Regions from separate parts of the Homo sapiens genome. Here regions 1, 2, 4 and 5 are each linked to region 3. Evidence: promoter capture Hi-C in 16 types of primary human blood cells and fetal thymus (Javierre and others, 2016). All regions are on one chromosome and are shown on one strand. The core of a region is centred on a gene start or on the middle of the fragment in contact, and the rest is flanking DNA. Distances in the headings are between cores, read along the strand shown.

Region 1 (4,376 bases), core at 1,395-3,894, 300 kb before region 3:
TTTTTTTTGAGATGGAGTTTCACTCTGTCACCCAGGCTGGAGTGCAGTGGTGCGATCTCAGCTCACTGCAACCTCCACCTCTCAGGTTCAAGCAATTCCCCTGCCTCAACCTCCTGAGTAGCTGGGATTACAGGCGCATGCCAAGACGTCCAGCTAATTTTTTTGTATTTTTAGAAGAGATGGGGTTTCACCATGTTGGCCAGCGTGGTCTTGAACTCCGACCTCAGGCAATCCGCCCACCTTGGCCTCCCAAAGTGCTGGGATTACAGGTGTGAGCCACCGCGCCCGGCCCCAAACTTTCTATAGTTGATGATAGCAATTATTTTTTGAGCAGTTAGTATGTGCCAGGCACCATACTAAACATTTTATCCAATCTAATCTAATCAGCCCTTGGGTACAAGGATTATTTCCCTTATATTACAGATGAAGGACTGGGACTCAGAGAGGCCCAGTGACCTGCCCAGTGACACACAGGCAGGAAGAGAAGGCAGGACTGGAGTCCACGCTAGGCTGATTTTCTTTTTTAAAAAACTGATTTGTTGTTGTTATCTCTCAACTCACGGAAGGTGGGGAGGGAGTGCACCCAGGGGCCCACCATCCCACCCTCAGCCGGGCCCGGTAAGTCTGACCACTGCTCCTCCCTAGGGCTGCCCAGAAGGCTGCGCTCCACTTCACTGCTGTGGAAGGGCAGCACCCAGGAGGCCCTGAACCTGCTCAAGGACGATGTGCTGGTAGTGGACCCGGGAACCAGGTGAGGAGCATACCCTGATGCCCAGCCTCATGTTAGGAGCCTCCTGGGGAGACACACCTGCCTGGCAAAGAGCCCACATCACCTCATCCTAGGTTGGCAGAGCCGGGAGAGACCTGCTCCCCAGCTGCAAAGGGCAAGACCTAGAGAGGGGAGGCCAGCAAGACAGGGGAGAGCTGGGCCCAGAATCCTGTTCTGTTTGAATGGAATGTTTTTTCCATTTACCCACTTAACATTTATTGAGCACCTACTTTGCCCAGAAGGTGATAAACACCCGGTTTGCTCCTCGTGGAGTTTGCACTCTTGTGAGGGAGACACCGTGAGCAAATAAGCAAGGTGAATACAGATTTTGCCAGGTTGGAAATAAACGGGTTGCTGACCAGATGGGGAGTGGATAGCTGGGTGGCCACTGAACAGAGAAGCCCCACTCTGGGAGCAGTGGGGCTGTGGGGCTGGACAGAGGACAGCTGGCACTCCCCAGCTTCAGGGGCCCCCTTCTGAGCCGCTGGTCAGTGACCCTTTTCCAAATTTGTCCCTCTGCTTCTCCAAATGCTGAACCTCAGGCCCCACTTCCCTTAAGGAAGAAATGATCCAGGAGATGCAGAGAGAGGAGATGCTTGGACATCTTCAGGCTGGAGTCCTCCTCTCAGCTCTGCAAATAACTATGGCAATGTGACCTTGGGTGGTGCACTTTATCTCTGTGAAACTCATCTAACTAATCTTCCTCATCTGCAAAAATAAGGAAGTTGGCCCAGAGTTCAGGAATGCCTAGGAGAATTTGTGAATTTTCACACATCCTTGCACCTTTCTGTTTTAGAGATTCTGAAACTGTATTTGCTCTGGGAAAGAAAAGAGGCCTCTTGCTGGTTACTGGTGTCTGCTACAGCCTGGAAGAAGGGAGGGGTGAGACCTTGCCTCATACATGGTCACTATCATTTTTGTTTCCCCAGAGCAGTGTAAGCCTTTAATTTTCCATTAGATAAGGTAAATCATACTAAAGTGTGAAGGACCAATAAGATTTGTGTGACAGCTTTCCCAGGTGCACCGCTGAGCTCAGCTCTCCTCCATCCTGCTGTATGACCCTGGGCAATTCCCCGCCCCTCTCTGGGCCTTGGTCTTCCCAGATGTAGAAGAGAGTCAGAGTCAGTGCTCCAAAGTCTCTTCCAGGTCTGACCACCTGGGATGCAGGGGAGCAGGTTCCTTCCCAGCCCCGCCCAGTCCCATGAAACTGGTGGCATTTCAGACAGCGCGGGCGGGTGAGGAAGGGCCCCGTCCCACTTGCCACTGCTCTCCTTCCAGATGCCATTACAGCACGCTGGCCTTCTCGCTCCTGGCCCACGTCCTGGCAGCTCACACCGCCCAGGGCGACTACCAGCGCTGGGTCTCGGAGAACGTGCTGGAGCCGCTGGGGATGGCAGACACGGGCTTTGACCTCACGCCCGACGTGCGCGCGCGCCTGGCCGCGGGCTTCTACGGCAGCGGGCGGCCGGCGCCACTCTATGACCTGGGCTGGTACCGGCCGTCGGGCCAGATGTACTCTACCGCCGCCGACCTGGCCAAGCTGGCCGTGGCGCTCCTGGGCGGCGGGCCCCGGCGGCTCCTGCGGCCCGACGCGGCCAAGACGCTGCTGGCGCCGCTGCTGGCCTGCCCGGGCGCCTACTTCGCCAACGAGACGGGCACGCCGTGGGAGTTCCACGCGCAGCGGGGCTACCGCGTGGTGCGCAAGGACGGCGATCTGGACGGCTACGCCGCCACCTTCTCGCTGGTGCCCCCGCTGCGTCTGGGCCTGGTGCTGCTGCTGGCAGGGCCACGGCCGCCCGGGCCCGACCTGGTGGCGCGGGCCTACGATGAGCTCCTGCCCGCCCTGGAGCGCGCCCTCCGGGAGGCCGAGCCCGGCCCGGCTCCGCCGCCCACCGCGCACCCCTTCGCCGGCTACTTCACCTTCGCCAACCTGACCTTCTACGAGGTGCGCGCCGGGCCGGCGGGCGAGCTGCGCCTGCGCCAGTTCGGGCCGCGCGTGGAGGCGCTGGTGCCTCCAGCGTTCCGCACCCTGGCGCTGCGCCACCTGCACGGCCGCGTCTTCCAGCTGCACGTGGCCCACGAGTTCCCCTGCGCACTGCCACTCGGCGACGCGTGGCTCTCGCTCGAGGCCCAGCACGGGCAGCTGGTCAACTTCTACCCCTTGGATCACCACGGGCTGTCACCCGGCTTCGACGTGCCCGGCCTCAACACGTACAGAGTGCTGCGGCTGCGGGGCAAGCCGGTGTTCAAGACCCAGTGACCCCGGGCTCTGCCTGGACCCCCCTGTCCCTGGCCTCCCAGCTTTCTAGAGTAAGGTTTGGAAGGGGAGCCTGTGGGAATGCCTGTTGGAGAACCCGGGTAGTTGGCAAAGTGGAGTAGGGTGATGCTACTCAAAGTGTGGTCTTGGACCACAGCCAGAAATTCAAATTTCTCCACATCTATAGGGGAGGAAGGATTAAGTACAGGCATTAAGAGTAAGCATTTAGAAACTAACAGGCAACCAAAAATTTAAGCATCGAAACAGTAGTTTTGTGCCTGTTGAATCTAAAACAAAATATGGGCTTGTATTTTGTCTTTTAAAAATAAACCTAAGCAACTGGGCGCGGTGGCTCACGCCTGTAATCCCAGCACTTTGGGAGGCCTTGGCGGGCGGATCACTTGAGGTCAGGAGTTCGAGACCAGCCAGGCCAACATGGTGAAACCCCGGCTGTACTAAAAATACAAAAATTAGCCAGGCATGGTGGAGGGTGCCTGTAATCCCAGCTAATGGGGAGGCTGAGACAGGAGAAACGCTTGAACCTGGAAGGCGGAGGTTGCAGTGAGCCAAGATTGCGCCATTGCCTCCAGCCTGGGCAACAGAGTGGGACTCCATCTCAAAAAAAAAAAAAATCAACCTAAGCCTGGGCAACATGGTGAGACCCCCATCTCTACAGAAATAAAATAAAAATTAGCTGGGTGTGGTGTCCTGTAGTCCCAGCTACTCAGGAGGCTGAGGCAGGAGGATCACTTGAGTCTAGGAGTTGGAAGCTGCAGTGACTCGTGTTCGTGCCACTGCACTCCAGCATGAGTGACAGAGCAATACCCTGTCAAAAAAATAAAAATGAAAATCAACCTTATTGAATTATAACTTACATAAAATGAAATACACATGTCTGGAGTACCATTGGGTGATTTTGACAAATATTTATACCCACCACCACAATCAAGATATAGAAAATTTCATCACCCCCAAGATTTCCCCCTACTCCTTTGGAGTCAGTTCTCTTTCTCCCCTAGCCTCAGGCAACTACCGATCTGCTTCCTGTCACTATAGATTAGCTTTGCCTGTTCTAGAATTTCATACAAATGGAACCATATGGTGGAGTCTTTTGTGTCTGTCTTCTTTTGCTCACCACGCTGGTTTTGAGGTTCATTCATGTCTGTGTGTGTATCAATAGTTTATTGCTTTTGTTTTTGTTTTTGTTTTTTTTTTGAGGGAGTCTCACTCTGTCGCCCAGGCTGGAGTGCAGTGGCGCGATCTCGGCTCACTGCAACCTCCGCCACCCTGGTTCAAGCAATTCCCCTGCCTCAGCCCCGAGAGTAGCTGGGACTACAGGCGCGCACCACC
Region 2 (4,353 bases), core at 1,290-3,789, 450 kb after region 3:
GTGCCAGTGGGAAAAGCCTGCCTTGGCGCTGCCCTTCTTGGCACATCCATCACCCTTCAGTGGTCACGGTCACAGCAGGAACCTGGAACTACCTGGGAGGATCCTGAGCTGTGGGAATCTTCCCAGTAAGTCCTCAGTCAAGGGCAGGACGGGACCTGTGAAGGGACAATCTTTCTCCTGCTTTCCCGCCCAAACTCGTGGCCAAAGGCAAGGCACATGCACGGGTGGAATCCCATCAGTGGCACCTGGCCAACTGGCTGCCACTTGCTTATTTGGCTTGGAACAGGAAATACATTTTTCTACTATTTAGACTGCTGACCTCAGGAATAAACTAATTACTGTTGCGAAGCTGCATTCCCACACTGTCCAGCTCACATCTGTAACCCCTGGTTGGGACCAACACAGAGGAGGTGCCAGATGGCTGGGAGGTCCAGGAGTCCTGGTGCAGTGGACACTCTTGTCCTGCGCCCTGGGTCTTCGGGGGAGAAGGACTTGAGACCACCTTTCCTGGATCTTCATCTCAGACCCAGAAGAGCTCTGTCTGCATCTGCCCTTTTGCCTTGAGCAAGTATCTCTCCAAGTCTTGGTTTCCTATCCACGCAATGGAGGCATGGTAATGTTGACCCCCAGGGACTGTCATTAGGAGTAAACGACACCATGTCTGAGAATCACTTCGTGGAAACGCGATCACCCCAGAAGACCCGAACAACCCAGCCCCAGAAGCCAGCTTGGCTCAGGCTGGCCCCACATCTCGGCCAGCAACAGCATCAGCCAGGTGTGCTACAGATCCCACCACAGGCATGCGCCCTGGTGCAGAAGCAGGCATCTGCCTCTAAGACTGCTGCCCGCAGCAACCAGAACAGTTATTTGGACTCAGGCAGGCAGGGCCAGCACCATCAAAGAGGGCCAGGAAATAGAAGATGAATGAATGAAGCAATGACAGCCTAAGCATAATACTATTTTAACTCATTCTAATAAATTTACTGAAATAAAAAACTGTTCAGCTCAAGAGTCAGCAAACTGATCTGTAAAGGGCAAGATGGTAAATATTTTAGGCTTTGAGGACCATACAGTCTCTGTCACAACAAACAAGTGCTGCCGCAGCATAAAACCAGCTGTAGACAATGCATACATGAATGGCCATGTCCGTGTTCCAGTAAAACTTTATTTACAAAACAGCTAGTGGGTCAGATGTGGCCAACCACTCTGGTGGAACCAGCCAAGTTGTAACTACATAAGCTCAGCAGTGTCCTTGAGACTTCCTCATCACCCCTTCATCTGATGGATCACCAGGTCCTCTCTCTTCTTCCTTCTATATAGCATTGTTTCCTTCCCACACCACAACCATTCCCCAGTCTAGCCACATCACCCACGACCTGGAGACTCCAGCAGCTTCCCACCTCTTGACCCTCTGGTCCATCCTCTACTCAGAAGCAAAAGAGATCTATCTCAGTGGCTGATCTGACTGTGTCATTCCCCTTTCCTGGCTCCCATGTCCTGATTGTCACAATCATTCAAGCCTAGATCCCACTGTTGGTCCAGCCTCATGGCTCACTGCCCTCCCCAGCCACCAGGCTCAGCTCTAGCAAGATTGAATATCTCTTCTAGTTCTCCTAACACATCACGCTCAGCCTTCTCCTATGCAAGAACACTTCTCTCCCTCCTCTTCCCCTGGCCAACTCCTATTCATTCTCCAGGTCTCAGGTCGGATGTCACCTACCCTACAAAGCTTTTCTGAGGTGCCCCCACAATACTTCTAGCTTATCTCTAACTTAGAAGTGATCACACTTTTGGCACAGACTACAGTGTGCTCAACAAACCACATCTCCCTCTCTTCCCAGTCACACAGCTAGACTACATTTCCCAGCCTCCTTTGGAGTTGGTGGGGCCATGTTGTTGAATTCTGGCCAATGGAAGAAGGTCAGAAGTGATGGATACCATTCCAGGCCTGGCCTTGACTTCCCACAAGATCCTGCATGCTTGCTCATTGTCCCCATCTTCCAGCTGAATGGAGAGGATTCTGAGGATCTGCAGAAGGGCAGAGCCACCAACAGAAGGAGCCTAAATCCCTGAATCACTTAGATGAGGGCAGCTGAAGAAAGCCACCTGCCCAGAAATCCCACTTTGTATTGAGCTCCTGAAATTTTAGGATTGTTTGTTACAACACTTGGCCTACCCTGACTAAACCAATCTTCAAATGGAATCAACTGTTTATTTGTCCACCATCCCTACTAGACTGTAACTAAGATGCATGCGGGCAGGGACTCATTTAAATCACACAACACCATCTTCCCAGAACTTAGCACTATATCCTGCATATAGTAGAAGCTCAATAAATACTTGTTAATTGGATGAATAAATGACTGAATATAACCTCAGTGGATGGCATAGGCTCCTCGTGTCACCATGGGGACACTGTAGCTCCTGAGAGCCCAGATAAGCTGAGTCCAAGGTGAGGGGCTGAAGTTAACACTTCAGCCTAGGGAGAGCAGCCTGTGCAGATTCCACTCCAGGGGGCTGAGCTCAAGTGATGCCAGGGCCAATGTCACCAACCAAGGAGGGGGCTGAGGGCAGCGTACCCATCCTAGGCTGGGGGTGGCAGCCACAGGAAGACCCTGGAGGTTGGAATCAAGCCAGCACTGGACTAGGCATTAGGAGTCCCAGATTCAGAACAGTTCTTCCCTCAGACTTGCTGCAGGACCTCAGTAAATAACTTTCTCTCTCTGAGCCTCAGTTTTCCCCTTCTGTTAAAAAAAAAAGTGATGCAGAGTGGACTATGAGGCTTTCAAATAGTTCCTAGTGGCAGGACCCCTTTCCCCACTACCCCCCCCAAAAAAAATTCTCTCTGGATTTTCAAAATATAAAACAGATACAAGTGGAATGGCTCTAATTAAAGCTGGGAAAGGGAGTCTGAGCCAGTCCCAAGCATTTTTCTTTATCCTTTTTTGTTTTGTTTTGTTTTTTGAGAAGGAGTCTCACTGTATCGCCCAAGCTGGAGTGCAGTGGTGCGATCTCGACTCACTGCAACCTCCGCCTCCTGGGTTTCAGCAATTCTCCTGCCTCAGCCTCCTGAGTAGGGTAGCTGGGACTACAGGTGCACACCACCACACCCAGCTAATTTTTGTATTTTTAGTAGAGATGGGGTTTCACCATGTTGGCCAGGCTGGTCTCGAACTCCTGACCTCAGGTGATCCATCCACCTCAGCCTCCCCAAGTTCTGGGTTTACAGGCGTGGACCACCACGCCCAGCTCCCAAGCATTTTTCTAAAGCACCTTCTCAGAACCTTGAGCTCCATCCTCTCTGACCCCCGCTAATACTTCCCAGAGTCTCCACCTACAGAGAAGCTTCTGGATCATCCAGCCAAACCTGCAGCTTCTGCTTAAACACCTCCAGTGACAGAGGGCACACTACCTCCTGGACAGGCTCTAGGGCAGCCCTAATGGTCAGATTACCCACCAGCTGCATGCTGCTTCCCTAGACTGTGCATCCCGGGTCTGTGTCATCCAACAGTCTCTGAGTGACCCAGCTAGAGACTGGGCCTTGAGAAGCTGGACTCCAGAAATAATGATAATAATAACAATAATAATAATAGCAGCTAGGCACGGTGGCTCACACCTGTAATCCCAGCACTTTGGGAGGCTGAGGTGGGTGGATCACCTGAGGTTGGGAGTTCGAGACCAGCCTGACCAACATGGAGAAACCCCATCTCTACTAAAAATATAATGTCAGCCAGGCGTGGTGGTGTATGCCTGTAATCCCAGCTACTTGGGAGGCTGAGGCAGGAGAATCGCTTGAACTCGGGAGGCAGAGGTTACAGTGAGCCGAGATCACGCCATTGCCCATTGCACTCCAGCCTGGGCAACAAGAATGAAACTCCATCTCAAAAAATAAAAATAATAATAATAATAGCCAACAGGCTTTGGCAAGCATTTTTCTAAGTACTTTACATATGCAACTCACTAAATCCATATATTAACTCCACAAAGTAGGTACCTGTACTGTGCAAGTTTATGTCACTTGTCTAATGTCATGCAGATAGTAAATGAGAAAGCTGGGACTCAAATCCAGACCATCTGACCACCTATTCTCAATTGCTTCTCTAATGTGTAGAAATGCAGCTGAAATTAAAAGGAGGGTAACCACGTGGTTAATAGCATTAATAATAACAACATAATTAATAATAATAGTAATAGTACTAATAATACTTGATACTTACATAACACTATGTGCTTTTATAAGCTTTTACAAATAATTCATTGATTTAATCCATAAGCAACTCTATGAGAGAGATACTATTATCATCCTCCTTTTATAGGAAAGGAGGAAAATGAGGTGCAGAGAGGTTAAGTAAC
Region 3 (4,353 bases), core at 1,412-3,911:
AGCTTGGGTCAAAGCCTTCTTCCTCCAGGAAACCTTTCCTCAGAGGCTGAACTGTATCCTCTCTTAAAATGGGGGAGCAGAGTGGTCTCTGCCTACTTCCCAGAGTGGCCACAGGGACCCAGGTGAGACCATGGATGGGAAAGAGTCATAAAGCCTTGAGCCCCAAGCTCTCATTGGGACTTGTGGCTGCTACTGCTATTGCTGCTGTTCTCTGATCCTCTCAACACCCTGGGGAAGTGGGTTGTGATTAATTTCCCATCTTGCAGATGAGGAAACTGAGGATCGGAACTTAGAAAGCAACCTACCCAAAAATCACCCAGCAAACTATTCTAACAGCAGGGTTGTGGCCAAACTCCTACCCTCTCTGCCACATGCTGGCTGTCCCAACCCCAGAGTCTGGCATGTGGAGGGCTCCCTGGGACCAGACAAGGCCTACTGATATTTGGCTCCTATGCTCTGCAAACCAGCCTCAGCCCCTCAGCCTAGTCCTGATCAATTTCTTGCTGAAAGCCCTGAGTTATGCCAGACACTGTGCACCAAGGAAAGGAAGCTGTAAAGATGAGTGTGGCCAGGGAATGCTGGTGACAGCTTTAGGTTCTGTCAGGCTCTATGCTCTGAAGACAGGGTGGCTCAGGGGCATGGTCCTGCTTATCCATGAATAAGCATCAGCTCTCACTCTTGCTCTTGCTAAAGGTTTTACAAAATGGCAATTTAACAACTTTAATAAGTTGGGTACGTATAGGCCAGGCTCTGAGCCAGATGGCTTGCATGCCATTATCCCCTGTAATTTGATATTCAGCCCCTGAGAATGCACTCTTGCTTTCTTATTTTACAGATGAGGCAACGGGATCAGAGAGGGCAAGCACCTTGATAAAAGTCACACAGCTCCTGTGTGGCTGGGAGTCAAACCCACATCCACTGGATCTTAAAACTCAATGTTATGTTAAGAGGCCACTGTACCTGGTGGTAAAAACATAAACTTTGAAGCCAGACAGCCTGATAAAAGGACTAATGCATGGGACACACCAAGGGTAGTGGTAGGCACATGGTCAGTGTTCGGTGAAAGTGGCTTTTTACCACCACGATGATTGCTGCTCTTGTTAGGCAGCACACATTCACCTGGTGGCGGGAGCCTGTAGTGTCACAAGGAAAGCAACACTCAGCGTTCACATAAGGTCTCTACTGCTTCTTAGCTAAGGGACTTGGGAAATCACTCCTTCTCTCTGGCCACAGTTTACCCTCCTATAAAGTGGGGATAATGCTACTCTCTCCCTCATAGGGTATGTGCGAGGACATGAGTTACAGCTTCCAACAGAGCCTGGCATGTTGGAAATTCTTAATGAATATTAGCTATTTTATTATTATCACTGTCATCCAAGAATTCCTGAGTGGTTGAACAGAAGGGAAGATGGTTGGAGAAGTAAAAAAAGACAATCCCTTTGAAAGACTGTGTTTAGAGGGAGGGGCTCTGTCAGTTGGAGGCAGCAAGGGGTGGAGAGCTGTGACCAGTTGGTGGGGAGAGAGGGTGGGGAGCAGGGTACTGACAGGACTTGGGCTTCCTGGGGAAGCCAGGGGCAGGGGGAGTGGGAAAGTGCTGGTTCTAGCCCATTTCAAAAGCCACCGAGTTTCAGCCTTGGGTTAGGGCTTACAACTCATCTGGTTTAACTGCCTCCTGCCTGTGCCAGCCCATCATCATTGCCAGCGCGGTTTCTCCTGTCCTCCCCCCAGGCTCTGACCTTTCCATCTCCTTCGGTCCAGCAGTCCCTTTCCGCAACATGGAGTCAGGCCCACTTGACTTTAAAGCCCCATCTGCTACCGGCTGCATAACCTCAGGCAAGTGCCTTAACCTCTCTGAGCCTCTTGGCAATGCTGATTTCAACCTGACAGGGCTGCCAGAAGGATGACAGGAGAAGGCGCTTAGAAGAAATAAGGTCCCCCCTGCCCCGTGCAGTGCCACATCCCACTCCCCAGCTGCACAAACATTGCGCTCACTCAGTACTAGCTGAGAACTCATCGTAACTCTACCTGCACATCCCCTTATTTCTTTGGAAGAGTCAAGCTGAGCTTTCTCAGCGAGTATGAGGAAATAAGCAAGGTGTTGGGGAAATGCTGGGCCGGGCAGGAGCGACTGGCTTATAATCCCACTCCTGCCTCTGGTTTACTGATAAATTTTGAGCCAGGGCATGCACTAAGCTTTTGCAAGCTTGATCTCCTGTAAGGCACAGCAGTGCTGAAAGATTCTGTTCTCTGTAGGGGGGCCGGGCTGAGAGAGGTTAGGTGACTTGCCCAAGATAACCAATACATAAGGTGCAGAGCCAGACTCAGCTCAAGTCTCTGCGATGCCAAAGCTCCTATGTGCCAGGCTCCCGCTTTAGGTGGCCTGCCCATCCGCTAGGCCCTGGGTAGCAGCAGACTCCCCAACTCACCCCAGAGATCTGGGTCCCATAGGTCTGGGATTGGGCCCAGCTACCTGCACTGTTAAACAGCCTAACTGGCTCCGAGGCAGGTGACGCAAAGCTCACACTTACGGAATCACCACTTTCTGCCATATTGGCCCTGCCAGCCTCCCCCAGGCGCCAAGCCCCGTCCTCACCTGGGAAGCTGGTGTCCTGTGAGGCCACTGGGCTGAGCAGCAGTGGGACCAGGAGCCGAGAGCCTACTGCCCTCGGTCCGAAGCGGAAGTTCCCTTCCCCAGAGGCGGGAAGGGCTTTCCCCTGACGGTCCCCTCCCATGGACCAGCAGGCTGGCCCCTTTCCCGTCCCCTCACTGTCCCCCCACCCTGCTGCCCTCAGGCAGTTTCAGGTCCTATTTCTGCAACCCACTGGATTTACTGTAAATGAGACGGGTGGGTGGCAAGTTTGGTTCTGCCAACTCAGCAGCTGTGGGGAGAACACGCTGTCCTGGGGGAACATCCACAGCTCACCCTCCCAGGCTCTCTGACCTCGTGATCTTCTTCTACACTGGGCAGGGGTGTTCCTCAGTGAGCATCATGTGGCGGGCCCGCTGCCTGAGTGCTGGCTTACAGTCAGAGCCTTTGATTCCAATCCCGCCTCTGCCACTTGCCAGTTGATGTGTTGTCAGTCAAGGGAGCCCCAATTTTCTCTGCTATAGGATGGGACCATAATTGTACCTGCTCTACAGATACAGATCTCACAGGCCACTGGGAGGATAATGGAGGAAATGATGGGGGAGGAAGTGTCTGGGGGTAAACTGTAAAGGGCTGTGCACGTGTTCATTGTTAATATCACTTCATGTCCCAGGCTTCCCCTTTCTGGGCTCATCTCTTCTGCTTCCTTCCCATTCTGTGCCCCTGCTCTTTCCCTGTTCTCAGAAAATAATCTCATAATGAATTTTAAATGTGTTCATTATTTATTGATACCCCTCCCTCTGCTTCCAGCAGGGCTGGACGCTGATGACAATAATAGGCCCAGGCAGGGGCCTGTTGCTTCTTCTCGATCCTGGAATCACGCCAAGTTAGGGCCGGAGAGGGGCTGAGGTTACTCGGCCCATCCTCCTCATTTTATATACGAGGAAACTGAGGCCCAGAGGGGAGACCCACCATTTAACAAATATTTAGTGTTTGCTTCCATGTGCACTGAAGAGAGAGCTCTTAGCAAATCAGCCATGGTCCCTGCCCCCATGGGGCCTCCCTTCTACGGGGGGAGACTGGTGTTAAACACGGAATGACATGAGGCTTCATTGCTTCTGTGATAAATGTCACAGAAAGACGTGACTGCTGGGGCCGATGCCTCATGGAGGTGGCAGATGCAGACCTGGAAGCCGGCATCCCTGGCACTAGGATATCAGTCTCTCCCTGTGGCTGCGTCTCAGACGACATGATGACTAGCAAGCACCAGGAGCTGGAGGCCCTCTTGACATCTGTGCTTGGAGATGGAAATTCACTGGGCTTGTGGATGCAGCTTGGTGGAAATTAAGTGTTAACTGCAATGGGTGAACAGGAGGGAAAGATAAGTTTGATAAAACCAAAAGGTCTCTGAGCTCAGTCAACTATAGTCCCGAAGGGACCCAGGCTAGGGTGAAGAGAAGAAACACTGGATTCCACAAAGGGAGAAACGAGTTAGTAGGTTGCAAGTTGAGGGCTTCTGAGCATTCCCAAAGCCGAGTGGCTCTGGGCCTCTAGTTCTTTTTTTTTTTTTTTTTCTTGAGATGGAGTCTCAGTCTGTTGCTCAGGCTGGAGTGCAGTGGTGCGACCTCAGCTCACTAGAACCTCTTCCTCCCAAGTTCAAGCGATTCTCCTGCCTCAGCCTCCCAGGTAGCTGGGACTACAGGTGCATGCCACCAAGCCCAGCTAATTTTTGTATTTTTTTTTAGTAGATACAGGGTTTCACCATG
Region 4 (4,674 bases), core at 431-2,930, 280 kb after region 3:
AACTCAAAGGAAGAAGGGAGCCGACTCTGGATGCAGAGAGATGAGGCTGATTGTTTTCTGTTCTTCATTAAGTAACAAAGGGAAAAACCAACTGTGCATGGTGTGTGAGCTTCCCCACCGGCACCACCCCAGACTCCTGGAACATCTTTATCCACTTACCCAGGGATTCAGGAAATTCTCTTCCAAGCCAGTTTTATTGGAGATTTTGGAAGCAAAGCTCACAGTCTCCCAATCAATAACAGATGAACAATGCTCACATTGCATTTTTTGGGGAGGACGTTTAGCCCGGGCTTGTCCCATCTGAAGAGCCTGCCCTTGGACATCCCTATTTGATCAGACATTGCTGGGAAATGAACTTCAGGGCAATTCTAGAAACCAGAGTCATTGGCATGAGGGTGCAGCAGGAAGGGGCGTCCTGGTCTGGGCCAGGCCTGGGGAAGCCCCATGTCTTGCAAAGGTTAGGGTCTGACCCCCCAGGTTCTCCCTGGCCTCAACTCTCTCCCCCGCCTCCTCCCTGGCTTATCCTCCACATGTGCTCTGCATGGGTATCGAATCTGCAGCCCATAAAGAATCAATCAAATCCAGTCTGGGCTCAGCCAAGGGCTGCAGCGCCAAAGTGCTAATGGAGGAAGGCCGGGCAGCCAGAGGGGATGGCAGGCCTGGCGGTGCAGTGGCGATTTCAGCATCAGCCTTCTTCCCACCCACACTCCATCCCATAGATACACGGAGCTGCAGAAGATGGCCCAAGAATGGGAACTGGGACCAACTCGTGATTCTCCATCTCCGCCTTCTCCACAGCTGGAGGGGTTGGGAGGGGTTGTGGGAGGGGAGCAGGGACACCTCCAGGGGACATAACACTTTTGTTACCATCAGACCATCTACAGTGAGAACAAACTACTTAGAGTGGGAAGCAGAGTCCACAGCTCATATCCTTCCTCTCAGCAACACTTATTGAGCACCTACAGCATGCCAGGCAGGGGGAGGGTAAAGTCCAGGCAACTCCCGTTTGCTGGAGTTTACATTCTAGCAGGTTTATTCAGCATCTCTGTCAAGAGAAAAGAAAAACCAAGAAAAACTATATACATTTTGGGACCCATCAAGGCATGACGGTTTTTTCCTAGTGCCATTTTGGAGATTCCATCACTCCCATGGCCAGGTCATTCATGCCATTCCCAACCTGTCTGTCAAAAAATCTGCTAAATATGTTGGCCCTGCCTGAGTCATGCCCATCATCTGGAAGATATTTGTTGAGCACCAACTAGGTTCAGGGCCCTGGTGGACATATGTTCTGGAAGCAAGAGGCAGGCCAGAATTGGAGCACCCAGTGGTGAAAGGCATGCTGAGGGGCTGTAGGAAAGCTTCAGTCTGAAGAGAGGGAGCCCCTCCACAGCAGGGCGGAACCAGCCCAGGTCCACAAGGCACAAATTCTTGTGCAAGCCCAACTCTGCCAGTGAATCACTATGTGACTTTGGGCCAATCTGTGTTCTCCTCTGAACCTCAGTTTCCCCATCTATAAAATGCGATGATGCACATATGAGTGTTCTCCAGGTACGGTCTTGCTTCAGAATCATCTCAGGGTGTGGGAGTTGGTGAAAATGCAGGTTCCTGGGCCCCACAGCAGGCCTCTGGCAAGGGTCCTCAGGAGGTGGGTCTAGGAGTCTGCATTTGTAACACATTCCCCTTGGGGTTTCCGATGTCCCAAAGTTTGAGCAAGACTCCTGGAGGAGACAGTGTCCAAGTGCTTGGCAAACGGGTCAATTCTGCTACAAAAGAAGGCAGCTGATAGGGGTGCAGATGGTCAAGGGAAACTCCCTGGAGGGGGCAGAAATGAGCTGGGCCTGAAAGCCTAATAACAGGAACGATAATCGTGCTATTGCTTGTGAAATGGCTTTCAAGCACAAGCCCTGTGCTAAGTGCTTTATGTGCATTACTTCATTTAACCATCATGATAGCCCTGGAAGAGAAGACTTCTTATCCCCATTTCATAGACGAGGAAGCTTAGGCTCTCCAATGGTTAAGTGACTTGCCCAAGATATTTGGATGCCCTCTGAGACACACTGCCAAATCCTCCCTAACAAAATACCACAGGCTACTCAGGGACCTCCTGAAACCTGGAGCCATAGAGGAGGCCTTTCTGGAACAGAAGGCTTTGGTACCTGAGGCCTAGAGGACAAGAGTGGCTTGTTTCCTAGCATACATATTTCACTCACTCACTCCCTGAATCAGTCATTCACTCACTCGCTGTTTTCTTTCTCCTTTATTAACTCATGTACTTATTCACTTATTAATTCATTTGTTTAATCACCCAGTCTGTTTGCAGCAGTCTGTATTTCTGGACTGTATTCATCAGGATTCTTTTATTATAAGTGGCAGAAACACAACTCAAATTGATTCAAGCGGAAAAAGAAATTTATTAATACTTTTATCTGACATGTCCAAAGGAGAGGACAGCTTCAGTCAGGGCTGGATCTAGGCGCTCAGATGTTATTGTCAAGAAACTCTCCCTACAGCCTTTGGCTCTGCTTTCTTCTGTGTTGGCTTCACTCGTAGGCAGGTTTTTTGTGTTTTCCTTTGCTTGTAAAGTTGCCCACCAGCAGCTGCAGGCCTATGTCCTATCAGCTTAGCCACCTCTGCTCAAGGAAGAGGCCTCTTTCCCAGGAGCTCCAGCAAAAATTCCAGAGGCCTCATATTGGCCTAGCCTGAGTCACATGCTCATCTGTGAGCCAATCACTGTGGTTAGAGGAATCAGGGATCTGACTGGCAGGCCTGGTTCTGGGGTGATGGTGTCAACCCCAGTGAATCACACATACTGAGCATGGAGGAGGGTTAGTTCCCCAAGGAAACTTGGTGTGTGTATTAGGCCGTTCTTGCATTGCTATTCAATACCCGAGACTGGGTGATTTATAAAGAAAAGAGGTTTAATTGGCTCATGGTACTGCAGGCTGTACAGGAAGCATGGTGCCAGCACCTGCCTTTGGTGAGGGCCTCAGGAAGCTTCCAATCATGGCAGAAGGTGAAGGCCGAGCAGGTGTATCCCATAGCTGGAGCATGAGCAACAGAGTGACGGGGCAGATGCTGCACTTTCAAACAACCAGATCTCTTGTGAACTCAGACCGAGAACTCACTTGTCACCAAGTGGATGGCACTAAACCAGTCATGAGGGATCCGCCCCCATGATCCAATCACCTTCCACTAGGCCCCACCTCCAACACTGAGAATCGAATTTCAATATCAGATTTGGAGGCGAGAAACATTCAGACCACATCAGCGTGCTAGCACTAAGAAGATAAAACTCTTTCATTACCCTTTCATTTGCTCCTAAATGCTGGCAAAATTTAGGGGTGCCTTCGACACAAGAGTCAGAGGTTTGTGTTGTCCTGGGCTCCTCCCACCCAGTTCCAATTTGACTCCAGGCACATCCACCCTATCTCTGTGATTTCCTCTTGGTTTCATGACAGAGTTAGGGGAAATGGCCTCTTCTGGTTTGGAAATGCCGAGCCATGATGTCCCTCTGTGGCTGGGACAATGATACCGACAGCTACCGCTTCCAGGGCATTCACTGAGTGCCTGGCTAAATGCTCCACAGACAGGTCCCCCTTAATCTTGCCAGTGGCCTGAAGTGGGCAGGGTGGGAGAGTTATTCCCATTTTACACTCGAGGAATCTGTGAGTCAGAGAAGTGAAGGACTTTCAGCTGCAGTCACAGCTGCCAAGTGACGGAGCTCGGCTTCAATCCTGGTTCTATGCAATGCTAGAGTCCACACTGTCCATCTCTGCTCTGATGAAGGCAGATTCCTGCCCACAAGTGAAGTTTGGTTCTGTTTGGAGTAAGAGAGCAGGGAGAGGGCAGGGTTGCCAATTTGCAAGTGGTCAGAAAGAAACTTCCACAGTGCTGGAGATTTCCTGAGACTCACCCCGACCGAACAAGGTCCTGATTTCCATTGCACCAGCCCCACGGATGCGACTTGTGTGGGGGCAGGCTGCATGGGGACAGGCCTGCAGGGAGCAGGGCTTTGGCAGGGCACACCCTCCAGGGCTCATCTCAAGCTTCCTGGTTGTAGGGTAACCGAGGTCACTAGGCAGCTGGGGAGGGGTGGGAACCAAATGTTTGCCGAGCATCCACTGTGTTCCCAGAACTCTACTGGGCTAAGTCGGATACCAGGAATCATGACTGTCATAATCATTGCGGGCAGAGATTCTTAGGTTGTTAGTGCAACAAGCAACCCCAGAGGCCAGTTTGCTTGGGGTTTTCAAACTCATGGCCATCAGGGCCAGGCAGGCGACATTCATGAGTACAGCAGGAGGGGCATGAAGGCTGGTATGAATGGAGTATCGCTGGGAATGGGAGAGCACAGTCCCCTCTCTAAAGGGGACGGCCACGACTCAGCATCTGCCATGTGGAGCCGTGGGACTTGGGCTGCCACATCTCCTGATTTTTCCAAGAGAACCTAGAAATCTCAGGTGAACGCCTCCAGTCTTGAAAATCAGATTTGGGGGCCAGGCACGGTGGCTCATGCCTGTAATCCCAACACTTCGGGAGGCCGAGGCAGGAAGATCACCTGAGGTCAGGAGTTCGAGATAACCCTGGCCAGCGTGGTGAAACCCCATCTCTACTAAAAATACAGAAATTAGCCAGATGTGGTGGCACATGCTTGTAATCCCAGCTGCTCGGGAG
Region 5 (4,291 bases), core at 767-3,266, 260 kb after region 3:
TTATACATGCCCACTGTGGAAAGTTTACAATGAGCATAAAATTACAAAGGGCAGGAAAAAAGCAGGTTACACAACAGCATGAATGGCTTGAATCCACTTGCGTAAAATGCTTTTATATATTTATAAAGAGAGATGGGGACAGGCAGGAATTGCAAGAGAGCGAGTGAGAGGCAGGCTTGCAAAGAAGTTCACCAGAGTGTCTGCAGTGGCTGTTCTCTATGGGCTGCATAACGCATGATTTTCATATTCCCCCATATGCTGTTTGATTTTTTTATAACAAACATGTATTACCGTTTTTTGAAAAAACATTTTTTGATAATTATTTTTGAATGGAAATCAGATCATTCATCTCCTCTACTTAAAATGCTCTAAGGGTTCATTCATTCAAGAAATATTCATTGACTAGGGACTAAGTGCTGGGCTTGGTTCTCTCTCCTTCCCTTGTTTTACGGCCCTTGTAGCTCTCATCAGGTGCTCAGAGTATTGTGTTTGGTTTGGTTTGGTTTTTTCCTTCCAGACAGGGTCTCACTCTGTCACCCAGGCTGGAGTGCAGAGGTGCGATCACAGCTCACTACAGCCTCGATCTCCCGGGCTCAAGTGATCCTCCCACCTCAGCCTTCTCAGTAGCTGGGACTACAGGCATGCACTATCACATCTGGCTAATTTTTATATTTTTAGTAGAGACAGGGTTTTGCCATGTTGCCCAGGCTGGTCTTGAACTCCTGGGCTCAAGTGATCAACCTGCCTCGGCCTCCCGAGGTGCTATTACAGGTGTGAGCCACCGCGCCCAGCCCCAGAGTATTGTTCTTTACAGGCTATGGGGTTCATGTGTATCCTTCCATAGAACATCATCAATTCTGTGAGGGCAGAGTCCTATATAATGCCTGTCCCCTCATGGGTATGTCTGTCTTGTACACAGCCACAGGAATGTCTATCTTACACAGCTTCTCCCTAGGTCCTAAAACAACACCTGACATGTAGTAGGTGCTCAATAAATATTTGTTGAACAAATGAAGGAACGTATAAAAGCAAAAATAAAGAAGTAAGGCAAAATCTTTCATCATTCCACCACCCAGAGATCACTGTTAACGTCTTGGCATATTTCTTCCTAAATTTCTTCTATGTCACTGTTTATATTCATATGAATATAGTTGAAAACACATTTTGCACCTTTTTCCTTAACTCAGCCTAACAGCATAAGCATTTCCCATGGTATTAAGAAGCATTATTCTTCTTGAAGTAACAGTCATGGTTCTCAGCCAGAGGCGATTCGGCCCCCCAGGGGACAGTTGGCAATGGCTGGAGACATGTTTGGTTGTTACAACGGGTGGGGTGAGGGGCATCGCTACTGGCTACTAAACGTCCTATGATACACAAAACAGCCCCCAAAACAACAAATTACTGGCCCTAAATGTGGATAGTGCCAAGGTTGAGAATCTGCCTTTAGTAGTTCATCATGAAGACCTATGAGATTTGGCTCCAACACCTTCCTGTTTCCAGTTTTCACCAATACAAAGAAGATTGTGAAAAAGAGCTTGAGACATGCATCTCTACCACACTTTATATTATCTCCACAGGGCAAATGGTGATGCTTGGTTTTTTCAGGAGGTTGAACGAAGGACAACATTGACCTTGCTTGGACTTCGTTTTTGTCAATTTCAGCTGCTTAGTCCCAGCCCTCTGGGCATTCTGTCCTCTGTCACATTTGTGGTCTTTTCCAGCTGCAAGTCATGTCAAGGGAAAATATCCAGACCTCCATGGCCAGGGTGCTTTCTGTGATGAGGGCTGCCCCACCAGCACCTCACCTGTCCAAGATTTCAAACCCTCACTGGGGGAAAACTTGTTTACCATGATCTATAAATAATGTGTGTCATGTGAGCAGAAGAGAAGAATGGAAGCAAGGATGCTGTGTACTTGCTGTGGACATTCAATTTCCAGTTTATACCAAGAAAACTGCAATTGTTCAAGACAATTTGGATGCCTCCTTGGGAAGTGCTTTAGGGGTTTACAATGCTTTCCCTCAATAAGAACATCATCTAGGTGAAAAGCCCTGGTGTGTGTACAAATACATCCTATGCAAAACAATATTCATTCATTCAGCAAATATTTACTGAACCCCTGCTATGTGCCAGGCACTGTTCTATGCTCTATAGACACAGAGATGAAACGAGACAGAGAGAGTCTCTGTCCACGGACAGCCTACTTTCTACGGGGAGCAGGGTCACATAACCAAATTATGTAAAACACAATGTCAGGAAGTAATTAGTGCTTGAAAAAAACATCAAGGACAGGGGACAGAGTGGCAGGGCAGGGAGTACAATTTTGGACAGGATAGTCAGAGATGGGTTCTCTGAGAGGCCATATTTTAAAGTGATCAGAGCTCAGAAAGTGAGTGAACCCTGGGGCTCTCTGAGAGTATAACAAGTGCAAAGGCCCTGAGGCAAAAATGTGCTGGGCATGTATGGGGAGCAGCAAGGGGGCCAGTGCAGTTGGTGTGAAAGGAGCAAAGGGGAAAGTTGTAGGACGTAAGGTTAGAGTGACAGAACAACCAGATCCCATAGGGCCTCGTAGGCCTCGGTGAGGACTTGAAGTTTTGCTCTCCTGGCGTATTTGAGCAAGGTAAGAAAGAGATCTCATGTTCCTTTTTAAAAATCCCTCTGGCTGCTGTATGGAAGATGAACTGTAGCGAGGCGAGGATGCAAGTGGGGAGCCCAGGAAGGGGCAGTTGTAATCTTGCAGATGAGAGGTGATGGTGGCTTGGACTTCATCATAAGGAGTGTGGTGCAGAAGGGCGAGATGTGGTCAGATTTCAGATATATTTTGAAGATGGAGCTGATGGGTTTGCTGATGCATTGCATGTGGGGGAAGGGTGACAGAAAGAGGGGTGGAGAATGACCAACAATTGAGAATTAAATGGGAGCTTTCGGAGATATGAGAGTTCTCTTCTGGGATTTATGTTTCCGTGGCACACCCACAAGCAATGGAGCCCCATGACAGCCAGCCAACCCCTGGCAACTTCCAAATTTCCAGATGCTCATTGATTTGCTGTTGTGTAGACTCTCCCTACTCAAAGTGTGGATGGAGAAAACACAGCATTAGCATCAGCTGGGAACTGGTTAGATGCTCAGGCCTGCCAGGTGATTCGTGTGCTTATTAAAGTGTAAGAAATGGCCGGGCACGATGGCTCACGCCTGTAATCCCAACACTTTGGGAGGCTGAGGAGGGAGGATCACTTGAGGCCAGGAGTTTGAGGCTGCTGTGAGCTATGATCATGCCACTGCACTTCAGCCCCAGTGACAGAGCTAGACTCTGTCTCTAATAAAACACACATACACATACACACACCCCCCGCACACACCCCACACAGACAAAAGTTTAAGAAACACTGATGTAGGTCACATATCTGAAAGGGTGGAATTCTTTATCTTCTCTTTGGGTGTTTTAGATTTTGTGAACATAATGACATTTCTTCTATAAGGAAGGTGATTTTTAAATGACAGCACTGTCGGTGGAGTAGAGAAGAGGAGCGTGTGGGTGAGGGCAAGCCTCAAAGTTAAGGTGAGCATTGACATGCAGATTTGGAAACACTGGCATTTCTCTACTGTCCTTTGGGCAGCTAGAACCACTTTCCTTTCCTGGGATACAGAAGAGCCAGCCTTCACCACAGAGGGGTGAACTGAGAGCTAGCGGCAGGATGTAGAGAAAAGTGGACAGGCTTTGGGGTCAAGCAAACTTCAATTCAAATCCAGGCTCCTCACTCACTAGTTATGTGATTTCACCTCTCTGAGACTCAGTTTTTCTTATATTTAGAATGGGACTAATAGTTTCAACAATATAGAATTATTGTGGTGATTAAATTAGATAGAATGCATAATGCATTTAGCAACATACTGAAAGAGAAGACCTGCTTAATAACTGTTAGCTACAGCCAAGTATGGTGGTTTGTGCCTGCAATCCCAGCTACTCAGGAGGCTGAGGCAGGAGGATTGCCTGAGCCCTGAAGTTTGAGGCTGCAGTGAGCTATGATCACACTTCAGCTGTACTCCAGCCTGGGCAATAGAGCAAGACCTTGTCTCCAAAATAATAATAATAATACATTTGAAAAAGACTGTTAGCTATGTTAATAAGTGGAGTTATGATGTAAACAGGATGCTTTTGGTTACAAGTAACTGAAAACCTAACTGTTTTAGTTTTCAATTGCTGTTGTAGTAGATTACCACAAACCTAGCGGCTTAAAGTAGCATAAATGTATCTTACAATCCTGTAGGTTAGAAGCTTCATGTGGATCTCA

The links. Contacts are between HindIII fragments. The CHiCAGO score rates a contact against its expected background, and 5 or more counts as called.
Region 1: a fragment that was not itself captured here is called in contact with the fragment with the promoter of C1QB in region 3 in 1 of 17 cell types (endothelial precursors); the score reaches 6.7 in endothelial precursors.
Region 2: a fragment that was not itself captured here is called in contact with the fragment with the promoter of C1QB in region 3 in 1 of 17 cell types (erythroblasts); the score reaches 5.2 in erythroblasts.
Region 4: a contact is called between a fragment that was not itself captured here and the fragment with the promoter of C1QB in region 3, in 1 of 17 cell types (erythroblasts). The highest score is 5.5, in erythroblasts.
Region 5: a fragment that was not itself captured here is called in contact with the fragment with the promoter of C1QB in region 3 in 2 of 17 cell types (erythroblasts and endothelial precursors); the score reaches 8.0 in erythroblasts.

What each region holds. Positions count from the first base shown.
Region 1 is chr1:22,951,696-22,956,071 of GRCh38, reverse strand. LACTBL1 (lactamase beta like 1) reads left to right here. Exons shown (of 8, transcript NM_001289974.2): 7 at 646-751; 8 at 2,048-3,029. The coding sequence ends at 3,029. Among named protein-coding and RNA genes, the nearest start is that of LACTBL1, 19 kb to the left of the region's middle. The HindIII fragment of the contact is 6,484 bases long and covers 1-4,376 here.
Region 2 is chr1:22,201,053-22,205,405 of GRCh38, reverse strand. No RefSeq gene overlaps it. Among named protein-coding and RNA genes, the nearest start is that of WNT4, 60 kb to the right of the region's middle. The HindIII fragment of the contact is 1,616 bases long and covers 1,732-3,347 here.
Region 3 is chr1:22,651,544-22,655,896 of GRCh38, reverse strand. It overlaps C1QB (complement C1q B chain), which reads right to left and starts at 2,661. Exons shown (of 3, transcript NM_001378156.1): 1 at 2,594-2,661. The HindIII fragment of the contact is 5,474 bases long and covers 2,206-4,353 here.
Region 4 is chr1:22,375,224-22,379,897 of GRCh38, reverse strand. No RefSeq gene overlaps it. Among named protein-coding and RNA genes, the nearest start is that of ZBTB40, 74 kb to the left of the region's middle. RefSeq lists an enhancer at 3,494-3,994. The HindIII fragment of the contact is 639 bases long and covers 1,361-1,999 here.
Region 5 is chr1:22,394,720-22,399,010 of GRCh38, reverse strand. No RefSeq gene overlaps it. Among named protein-coding and RNA genes, the nearest start is that of ZBTB40, 55 kb to the left of the region's middle. The HindIII fragment of the contact is 4,522 bases long and covers 1-4,277 here.